2 separate regions of the Homo sapiens genome follow, and region 2 is linked to region 1. The links are contacts of gene promoters, found by promoter capture Hi-C in human tissues and cell types (Jung and others, 2019). All regions are on one chromosome and are shown on one strand. Each heading gives the region's core, a stretch centred on a gene start or on the middle of the fragment in contact. The rest is flanking DNA. Distances are from core to core; before and after follow the strand shown.

Region 1 (5,810 bases), core at 1,079-3,578:
GTTCAAAAAAATCTTTAGCAGGTAGGCATGTATAAAAATATTATTGAAGAATACTCAATTAAGAATAGGAATTCTAGGACCCAGTGATAGTCCAAGCAGCCTTCCCTGCCACTACCAGGTCCTCTACTCGCCAGGAAATGGTGTTCATCTTCCCACCACTTGTAATATAGCACTTCTATTGATGTGAACAATGGTTATCAGTCCTACCATGTTCCTGGAGAGTCCCCAACTTTGGGACAGGCACCTCTCCTATTTGGTAAGAAAAGCAAACTTACCTTGCTATTGGTCCAGCTTTTCAAGTGGTTGCTAAGCAACAGGGCTATGTAGATATTGGATTTCTGTCTTCATTATATTGTTGTGTCAAATGATCATCTTGGGCAACCTCATGCTCAGTAATTACAATATTATGTGACTCACTGGATTCCTGTTTGTATCTGCCTTTTTGTTCATGACTGAGTAGGTCTTGTTTGCTATCTGCAGATTGACCAGACTTTCCTTTTGCATTTTGGCCAGACCATTGATCTTGATTAGGATTTGGTGTCTGGATTTGAGACTTGCCTTCTACTAGCTTTTCAATTTGGAAAGAAATACTGCTTTGGGATACATCTTTCTGCGTGCTCTTTCCTCCATAGTTGAGTCGTCTTTCTTCTGTACTTGAAGATTGGTATGACATTTTATTTTCCTTATGGCCATGCTCTTGATCTTGACTAGGAATTGTTACCTGGTTTTGAGACTTGCCATGTATTTTCTCTTCAGTTTGGATAGAAATACTGCCTTTGGATACACCTTTCTGTACATCCTTTTCTCCACTGTTGAGACGTCTTTCTTCTGTACTCGAAGATTGGTATGATATTTTATTTTCCTTATGGCCATACTCTTGAGCTTGACTAGGAATTCTTACCTGGTTTTGAGACTTGCCATGTATTTGCTCTTCAGTTTGGATCGAAATACTGCCTTTGGATACACCTTTCTGGATGCCCTTTTCTCCACAGTTGAGATGTCTTTCTTCTGTACTTGAAGATTGGTATGATATTTTATTTTCCTTATGGCCATGCTCTTGATCTTGACTATGAATTGTTACCTGGTTTTGAGACTTGCCATGTATTTTCTCTTCAGTTTGGATAGAAATGCTGCCTTTGGATACATCTTTCTGTACACTCTTTTCTCCATGGTGAAGTTGTCTTTCTTCTGTACGTGAAGACGGGTATGATATTTTATGTGCCTTCCGGCCATGCTCTTGATCTTGACTGAGATTTTTTGTCTGGTGTTGATTCTTGTTATATACTAGGAGCTCATCTTGGGTAGTAAAAATGTCTTTGGGTCCATGTTGGAGTCTGTCTTGATGTGCAGGATGGAGTGAAGTTTGTAGTTTACTTGAATGTTCCTCTCTCACGTCAACCACATTTTGGTAATGCCCTTTATTTTGATGAGAATTTTTAGTCTCACGTTGTTGTTTGTTAACTACTAGTTCTTCAGTTTGGAGAACATAACTGCTTTGGGATCCACCTTGTGTTCTACCTTTTTGTGCACCAGAGGCTGAAGCTTGTTCTTTACTTAGTCCATGAACCCATAGCCTTTTTTCTGTGTTTGAACATTGACTGGATAATCCCTTTCCAGATGGGCTATTCCCCTGATCTTGAGAAGGATTTTGTGTCCCATGATGAGCTTGGCCTCCTTTATGATGTATAACTATCATGTGAAAATGACCTTTTGATTTATCATGGTCTCTGCCTTCTTGTTTATAATTGAGCAGTTGTTGACTTCCACCTAGGTGTTGTTTTGATTTTGTCGCCTTATGTAGGGCATTCAAATCATATTGCTGACTTTTTCGGGTCCAGTCATGATCATTGATGTCTACATGATATGTGTGTTGAATAGAAAAACTGCCTTTGGATTTAGTATGTTGTTGGTCTTTTTGTCCAAAATAGTGCTGGCCCTTTTGTCCATGTGGAAATTGGGAAGATCCGCTTGGCAATTGGCCTTTTGATCCACCTGGTAATTGATAATAGAAATGTATGCATTCATTATCTCCAAAGCTCTCTTGCAACTCTTACCTCCCACCTTTTCCCAACAAATTTCTGATATTTCCAAAAGCCTACAGCGTTGGGTGGAGAAAAATCAATTCTCATCAAGGAGAAGAATCTGTGCCTGAACAGGTTACTGTTTGCACCCTGAATATCCTTAGAGGCCATTTTTTTAAAGTAGCTTTCCCCAAGGCTTACCCTCTCCACTCACCTTTTTGTCCCATCACAGCTGCTTGCTTCTCCAAGATAAGGAGCAGGGAAAGGACAAAGAGGATGATGGACTTCATCTTGCTTGAAAAATCTTGTCTGAGAACTGAGCGGATCTCTTCATTTATATGTTCCTTGAGTGGGTGTGCTATGGGTGGAGCTGAAATGTCAAAAGGCACTGCCCTTTCATAGCTTATTAGTAAATGCCAGCTTCCTCACCCCTGCTCAGTGGGGGATAATGTCAAAGTCCCCAGGGACTTAGCATGGGGACATAATATCAAAGGCAATTTTTTTTACTTTCAGAATCCCCAGCAAAATTTTATCGGTCTTTGTATATCATCATGCCAGATCGCTTGCATTATACAGAAGAAATTCAGTCCGGAGTAGGAAGGAGACTAGCTTCAGGTTACAAAAGTAATTGGTGGCTGACAATGCCTTCATACTCTAAATGCGAGTTTCCTTTCTGATCCAATAACTTAAATACTAAATTTTAGGTATAACTCTATACTTTGTCTTGTTTTAAAGTAATCCTGAGACACATTCTGTTTTACTCGAGAAGGAGCAGTCATAGAAGTAGAATGATACAGAAGAGAAAGAAACTTCATGGAAGCCAAAGAAAAAAATTTCAACAAATAAATGAGGCATACCAATGTCAAATGTATCTGTGAAGTTCATCACAAAAAAGACTAACATGTGTCAAAAACTTTCTGATGTTACTCACTGCTAGTAATGTTAACGAGAGATGAATACAGTTGTGTTGGGTTGTCAGTTGAAGGATGGAGTCCAGCTGAAACCATCTCAAGAAGTCTGATTTCATGGTGGAATGAGAGGTGAGGCTGTATCTGGAGGGTGAGGTAAGCTCCAGAGATTTTTTGAAAGGATGAGAAAAATTTAACATGTTTTTATGATGATAGGAACAACTGTTGGAAAAAGAAGTAAGAATGTTGGTTTCCAAATTGGATTATTTGATGATATTTACCTAAACAAAAATGTATTTACCAAAATACATTTTTTAAATAAAAGCATTTCATACTTCTGTAATAAACTGCTGAACCCTCCAACAGGCTGTGAGGAATATTTGCCAACTTCAGTTCATTAAATAATGTATTGAGAGTGGACCTAAAGCTAAAATTTTTACCTTGGGTGGAAGCATAGGGTTTTTTTGCTTTTGTTTTGTTTTGTTGTGTTGTGTTGTTTTGTTTTGTTTTTTTGCAATTGTGAAAACTTCTTGAAAAATCCAAGGAAGGTTTTTTGTTTGTTTGTTTGTTTGTTTTGTTTTTTTTGTTTGTTTGTTTTTGAGACAGAGTCTCGCTCTGTCGCCCAGGCTGGAGTGCAGTGGCACCATCTCGGCTCACTGCAAGCTGTGCCTCCCAGGTTCATGCCATTCTCCTGCCTCAGCTTCCCAAGTAGCTGGGACTACAGGTGCCTGCCACCACGCCCGGCTAATTTTTTGTATTTTTAGTAGAGACGGGGTTTCACCGTGTTAGCCAGGATGGTCTCAATCTCCTGACCTCGTGATCCGCCCGCCTCAGCCTCCCAAACTGCTGGGATTACAGGCATGAGCCACTGCACCCGGCCAGTTTCTTTACTTTGACTGAAAAAGTCCTTGTTATGAGAAGACAACAGGAGAAGCAGCAACATTTGAACAGTGACCCTGTATGCATTCAGAACACTGTGGAGGGTAGTTCTGGAGAAAGGACGGCTTGGAAACTTATTTTCTATTATTCTCTCTTAAAATCCTAACCTTCCTGTAAGCAATGCTATATGGAAGGGGAGAGGGGAAAGGCCAACCATAGGAAAAAATGCTACTTATGCCATCAAACTTGAAGCATGTGAGCTATGTGGTTTCTCTATGAGCCATTCTGAGATCTTACCAGTTTTATCTGTTTGCCCTAAGGGCAGTAAGTATTTCCTTATGGCAGGGACCCCAAAAGAAAAGAGTAAAGTTTTCCTGAACACAAATTTATTGCTGTACCTGCTAATCACTATAATCTTCCTTACACTTCCCTTAAGGAAATACCAGGAACTGTTGTGTTCCAAGATTACCGGAACAAACAAGAGTCTGAAATATTAATCTTACTTATGGATCAAGAACAAAACTTCCAACTAATCTAGTGTCCAAAAGATACAGATAAAACAAAGGTGCACAAGATTTGCAAAAACAAAGCAGGAAAATGCAAACTAGGCACAACATGTGATTATGATACTCATATCATGATTGGATTTAATGAAATTTGAAAAAAAAGCATTTCAAAATTAAAAATAAATCTATTGATAAAGATGAAAGCAGAAATCGGTAATTTGGAAAGCATAAACATGGTATAGTGCTGCATACATCTTAGATGTGGTATCATGATTGGGAAAATATCAAATGATAAAAAATAAACAAGGAAAAAATAGTAGAATATTTTAAAGTTCACCAAGTAGGAGACAGGTCACTGAGCTTGACACAGTTTATATGCCCCTGTGGCAGCACAGTGGCTATGTGTCCACACTGAGTACCTGAGAAATAGCCCTGTAACACTCTCTCCCTCCAGAGACACATCCATGGCCTGCTCAGTGGCCCTATACTCCCAATAAGAGCTTGAGAAACAGACTCACAAGCTCCCCTGCTGGGCTTGACACCACGCTGGCCCAGCTGCCGAGAGCCCATTTCCCAAACCTGAGAAACAGCCCATGGGCCACCCCTGGTGGGCATACCCAAGCCAGCCAAGTAGTTATGTGGTCATGTCCCAGGTCTGAGAAACAGTCCTACAGATTGCCTCTGGTGGTCACACATGAAGGACAACCAAGAAGCTCCATGCCTACACCCTAGGCCTACAGAATATCTTCTTGGGCCACCCCTTACAGAAATGCTCAAAGCCTAGCCACTCAGCCATGCAGCTGTGTCAAGTGCCTGAGAAAAAGCCCTCTTTCCTCTCTCATTCCCTTCCTCTCGTAGGCCATCCAAGCAGCCTTACACCCACATCTTGGGCCTGAGAAAAAGCCCAGTAGACTGACCCTGGCAGACATGTCTTCAGACCAGTTGAGAAGCTGTACTTCCACGTCCTGAAACCAAGAAACAGCTTCACAGGCCACCCCTAGCCTGTAGTCACACTCACTGACTGAACAAACATGTGCCCATGCTTCCAGCCAGGATAACAGCACCCTGGCCCCAATACCATTGAGTCATACCTTAATTGAATTACCTACCACGTGGATGCACACACCCCTGACCTGAGAATTAGCGCTGGAACCACAGCACTGGCAAAGCCATGCCACTGTAGCAGCACACTCTCTCAACTAGGGCGCTGAGAAACTCTCAAGTGCCACAAGTGTGGATCATAGGTGAAGAAACTCTATGGAAACAATACTGCTACATACACCTGCAACAAAAACCAACAAACTCAAATGAACTAACACCTAAAGACCCATTCATAAAAATAAGTTTTCGCTTATAAAATCTACTCCATAAAATTGGAAGAGGCAACTTTTCCATCAGACGCATAAAATAATAGCAGAAAACTTCTTGCATCTTGGGAGAGAGATAGAAATCCAGGTCCAGGAAGCTATAAGAACCCTAAATAAATTCAACCTAAA
Region 2 (5,810 bases), core at 1,879-4,378, 46 kb after region 1:
AATGCAGCATGTCTAACTGATTGTTGCTAGCATATAATAAAAATATCATTTACTATCACTTACTAACCTTGTGGCTTTTAATGGTTACTTAATCTCTCTTAGCTTCAATCTTTTTACAAAATTAGAAAATAAAATATGTATAATGGCCATCTGAAAGGGACTTATGAAAAATAAGTGACAATACATGTAATCTACTAGGTATAGGAAATAGAGTAAATATTAAAAAACAGAAACCATTATTTCCTCCAATGATGTATTTTGTATTTGTCAAGCCAGAAGTTTGGGTACTGCTGTCACCTGTACTCCAAGACACCCTAGTGTCAAAGCCCTACAGTTGTTCGGACTAGCCTCTGAACAATAGGGAAAAATCATGGCTCAGATGCTCGTGGATGGGGCAAAGTGGTGCAGGGATCCACATTGTCTCACCCCAAGCCTCTGCTCCCCATGTCATCTCAGAGCAAGAACCCAATACACAAAGAAGAGCTGTTTCATATCCCAGAGTGGCAGGATTAGACCTTCCTTTGCAGAATAATTATACCTTACCCCCTCAACTGAAATAGACCTCTGAGGCCTGGAAGGGGGACATACATTTGCCAGAGGTCACCCAATACGTGGGGAGGCAAAGCCAGTGCTGAGATCACCTGACTGTCAAGCCTGTGCTTATTCCCCTTCACCCAGGCTGCTCCCCTCCTGGGGGCTGTGGCCTTCTCTGAGAGTTTCCTTGTGCAATCGCAGTGGGACGAGTGGGTCAACAGGAGAGCCATGAGGTTGCTCATATTCCTGCCCCTTTCTCCACTACTCAAGTCTGCCCTGCCCCCAACATGTATGTCTCCAGAGAATGCTATTCACCCAAACCTCTGACACCATAGTATGAAGGACTTAGTGTATCTTGCCTCCTCATTCACATCTTAAAACAGAAATCTGGAAGAGAATATTGCTTAACCTAAAGGAATGCTACTTCATGGAGGAATCTCAGGCATAAACCAGTGAAATTCTAAAGAGCAGGAGTTTCGCAGCATCTGTAACATCATCCTTTCTATGTGGTGTTGAAAAGATATAGATTCCTGGGAAACATTAATGAGAAGGAAGTGGGGAGCTGTAGTTGCAGCCATAAGGGTTGGCTGGTCACACTGGTAAGGCCGACAGTAGCCAGGTCAGGACTGATGGTGGATTGGAAAAAAAAGACCTGCTTATGGTTTATGTAATGTTTATTTATTTTTTGTGTTTTGTGTTTTTCCTGGTCCTTGGCCAAAGGCAAGATTTCCATATTTCCATTTCCTGGTGAAAAGGAGCTGGCAGCACTGGGGCTGATTATTGGATTTGTAATATGAAGCCCTAGCAATGTGCCTCCTGTTTCCTCCCCCCGCCCTGCTCTCTTTCACCATGGGACCGTTTCCCCTCTTCACTGGAGAGAAGAAGTCCCAATTCTACATCCATTTCCCCAAAGCATCCAGGAGCCCAGAAGTCATAGGAACCAGAAACAAGTGGAGCAGAAGGAACTCTTTATTGGAAAGTGGATGAGAGAGGCAGCTCCAGCCGTGGGCATCCTGAATGGGAGGAAGAATGGACAGTGTGGGAAGGGGAAGGGCAGCAGGGACTTAGGACCAGATGGGGCCTGTAGCTCTGGGGACGGCACAGGTGCAGCAAGGACCGGCTCCCTCTGTGGAAGAGAAGAGTATCAGAGGTGAGAGTCAGCACATCAAAGCACTCAGAGGCAGTGAGGAAGACAGATCATCCTTCTAGGCACTCTGGTTATAGCCTCTCAGACCCCTCAGTCTCCCAGTCTTTCTGTCACCTCCCACAACCTCCCTCCCACCAACCTGGGATGCTTCCCCACCGCTCAGCCTTCTTTTGTGTCTTCAGGGGTCTCCTCGTTCTCCAGCTAGTGCTCACCTCACTGGGGAACGAAACAGGCCATCCCGCAAGAGCCTTCACAGCACTTCTTGATTCCTGGGCAGTCAGTATCTTTCAAGCAGCGGTTAGGGGGATTCAACATGGCGCACCGGATCAAGATAATGGGGCAGGAGCCAGGCTTAGTGGAGACTGGACCTTTGACTGGCTCTTGCGCTTTGACTTTATCTTGACCTTTAACTGAAACTTGTCCTTTAACGGGATCTTGTCCATTGAATGGAACACGGCCTTTGACAGTGTCTTGACCTTTAACAGGAACTGTTAAAAGAAGAAACGAGCCCACATTTATACCCAGTAAGCCTCTGCTTCAGCTGCCATGTCTTTCCTCTGGGTCTGGGTCCATCCACTGCTTACTGCAGCATCCTCAAACCATGGCCTGAGTAGGGAAGGTACACCTCTGGGAGCTACACTCTTGGAAGGCTCTTCCTTTTTTGGGGTGGTCTACTGGACCAGAGTTCCCTTGAGTATTTGTTTCTTCCCCCTTCCTCCACTCCAAGTCTCTCAGGAGCAGTGGTCAGACTGGGGTGACACCCAGCAGTGAAGAGGACACATTGTCATTTGTTAGGAAGTGCATTGGAGTAGGAAAGAACCCTGAGCCACATACTAGGAGACTTGAGCCCCATCCTGGCTCTGGGAATTACCTTGGCAATTGCTCACTCATTTCTACATTTTTGGTTCCCTCCTTATAAAATGGGGGTCCTCAAACAACATGATTCCTGAAGGCTTGTTGTTTCTTAACCTCCTTTTAGAGTACTGATTACTCCAGTGCTTTTATGGGGCAGAGAAACGGGGGACTGTGTCCACACCCAAGGTTTAAAATCCTGGAGTTCATTATTTTATTGCACATTCTGCACAGGTATTGACATCTGAGGCCAAGGCCACATACCAACATTACTTCCACAAACAGTCCTGATATCTCAGTCACTGAGGTGGAAAGCACGTGGAGTCCACCAGCCAAAGTCCTATTTTTTCTGAATATGATGGCAAAGAACAGAAAGCTGAAATCTGGGCTCCAGTGCTGCCTACTGCTTCAGAAGTGCTCCCTGTCCTGGCCCAGGGTGTCCCAGAGGGTCTCCCCTTAGTCCAACCCAGCCCAGCAGGTCACCTGTTCACTCACCTCCCGTGACAGCTGCCTCTAGAACCAGCGTCCCAGCGATGAGGAACACCACCACGATCAAGAAGCTGCTGGCCCTCATGGTGTCAGGAAGGTGTTTGGCTAAGAGCTAAGGCCATACCAATCTTTATGCAGTCCAGCTTGGCCTGGCTCCAGGGGCGGGTCTGTGGTATTTACAAGGGATAATTCCTTAGCTGTATTGGGAAATATCCACCCCATTCTGGGAGGGACCTGGGGGCTTTCCCTCAGGATTATTCACAGGAAGAACTAATGGACATTACATCACATCATCTCTGATTGTCCCAAGAGTTTTCCTACTTTCTCACAGAGTAGAAGTGCTGGCTCACTTATTAGGTAACATTACAATGAAATTCTTCATGTTTTGAAATACAGTGAGACCCAAGAAGAGAAAGGAATCACCGAAGGTTATTCAGCAAGTCACTGGTAGATCCAGTCTTGATTACAAAACCAAGGTGTTTCTCCATTATGCTCTGGTGCTACAAACCCCACCCAGATCTACTTTATCATTTTACCACTCCCAGCATCAAACTGGGCATTTCCTTCCTTCTTCCCTGGTCCTGCAAAAAACTCTGTAAGACAAATTTGCCTTGAATACATAATGACTAATTATTGCACTTTGCTGTTTCAGAGACGGCCTTTCAGATGCATCAAGAAAGTAATTGGAAGGTGGAATTCTAGGTCTGAAGAGGGATGATGCCCTTGAAATCACAGTGGTAGGGAGAAAATAATCAGAAAGTAGTAGAAAACATGTATCATGTATACATTGGACATCTACAGTGTGTGTGTCCAGCATGCCTCCCCACTTCTTTGAACAGCACCCTGTTTCTTGTGAAGAATTGTTGTCTCTTTGAACCATCAACTTGTGAGTCTAATGGGGACTGCTAATCATGAAAGCCTGACCCCTGACCACAGGTAGGGGTGTGTGTGTGTGTGTGTGTGTGTGAGTGTGTGTGTGTGTGTTGTGTGTGAGACTTGGTCTGGTCTATTAACATATTTTATTTGAATGAGTAATGAAAGGGGAAAACGGGGGTTCCTTCTTCTGGAAAAGGTGATATATATGAACCAGGGAATTCCAGAAGTGGTTATCTAAGTCTGGGGGTGGAGATCAATTGTCTGAGAAAAACGACTCTAATACACTGAGACAAGGAGAGAAGTGATGGTGAGAGAAGATTCAGATGACACAGCCAGGTTTCCCTCCTTTACCTTGAGAGCAGTTCTTCACACACCCTTCTCATGGTTGGGTTATGAGGCAATAAATTAGCCCTCTGCTTCAGCTAGTCTGACTTACTATTCTGTCATTGTTACCAAAAGTTCTGAGTAATAGAAATGAATATCCTGAAGTTGGGTATTGTCAGGGACAGAATCTGAGTTAAGAAAGTCACTGAGTTGAGGTGGAGTTAAGGCAGGGAAGGTAACAAACTAATTATTGGACACTAATTCAGCTGGTGAAATCCCCACCCCTTGTCGATTTAGACTCTGACCACATGCCCACCAAGCCTGAAACTGAGGGAGACATAAACGAATGTCAGACTGTGGAAGCCTTTGGCTACCTTACACAAAAGCTCATTGTACAATAAGCCATACAAACAAATAAAAAGCTCACAGAAAATACCTATATTCTTTAAAGAATAGCATTAAAATGAGCTGCCAGGTAAAGGAGGAGAATATTTGCTATATCTATGCTCCATGCCTCTCCTCAGTTGCTTCATTCTCCTTCCTCCCCAGAGATAACTGCTTCCTAAGATTTTATGGTAATTAGCCCTTGCTTTCCTTTATAGTTATGCCACTTCTGTCTGTATTCTGAAATATATATTCAGTTTAGTATACTTTTTCAATTTGTATGTAAATGAAATCTAAGGTATAGTGTTCATATGTCCTGCTTATGTTGCTCAACATTATATTTTTGAGAGTCATCCATTTTGAAGTCTACACCTGTAGTTCATCATTTTCACTGCTGTACAGTATTCTATGAAAAATACCAAAAATGTTATATATTCATTCTACTGTCAATATACATTGGATATTTCTAGGTTTTAGCTATTATAGTGTTGCTATGAATATTCTTGTACATATCTCTTGCAGAACATAGGTATGCATTTATTTTGGATATATGGTTAGGAATGGAATTGCTGGATCACAGAGTACAGATCACAGAGTATAGATACATCCAGCTGTCATAAATACTGCAATCAATTTTCCAACATCATTGTACCAATTCACACTGCTATCAGCAATGTGTGAGCATTCCATTTGCTCCATAATCTCACCAATGCCTCATATGATTTGCCTTTTCATTAGCCATTCAGGTGGACATCTTGTGGGATTTCCTGTGATTTGAATTTACACTTTCCTAATAACTGGTGAAGCTGACCCATTTTTAATACTCCTTTTTTTTTTTTTTTTTTTTTTGAGATGGAATTTCGCTCTTGTCACCCAGGCTGGAGTTCAATGGCACAATCTCAGCTCACTGCAACCTCCACCTCCCAGGTTCAAGTGATTCTCTTGCCTCAGCCTCCCAAGTAGCTGGGATTACAGGCACATGCCACCATGCCCAGCTAATTTTTATATTTTGCAGTTTCACCATGTTGGTCAGGCTTGTCTCGAACCGCTGACCTCAGATGATGCACCTGCCTTGGCCTCCCAAAGTGCTAGGATTACAGACATGAGCCACTGCACCCGGCCCATTTTTAATATTTCTATTATCCATTTGGCTATCCTCTTTTGTGAAGTGCCAATTCAAGTATCTTACCTTTTATTTACTTAT

Evidence for each region. Contacts are between HindIII fragments. The study calls those that stand out against the background at their distance.
Region 2: the fragment with the promoter of PI3 here is called in contact with the fragment with the promoter of SEMG2 in region 1 in 2 of the 25 tissues and cell types used here (mesendoderm cells and small bowel).

Annotation. Positions count from the first base shown.
Region 1 is chr20:45,217,891-45,223,700 of GRCh38, reverse strand. It overlaps SEMG2 (semenogelin 2), which reads right to left and starts at 2,328. Exons shown (of 3, transcript NM_003008.3): 1 at 2,236-2,328; 2 at 276-1,992. The coding sequence starts at 2,311. The coding sequence ends at 320. The HindIII fragment of the contact is 14,800 bases long and covers 22-5,810 here.
Region 2 is chr20:45,172,220-45,178,029 of GRCh38, reverse strand. PI3 (peptidase inhibitor 3) reads right to left here and starts at 3,128. Exons shown (of 3, transcript NM_002638.4): 1 at 3,029-3,128; 2 at 1,894-2,169; 3 at 1,486-1,660. The coding sequence starts at 3,107. The coding sequence ends at 1,895. RefSeq lists an enhancer at 2,339-3,538. The HindIII fragment of the contact is 10,589 bases long and covers 1-5,810 here.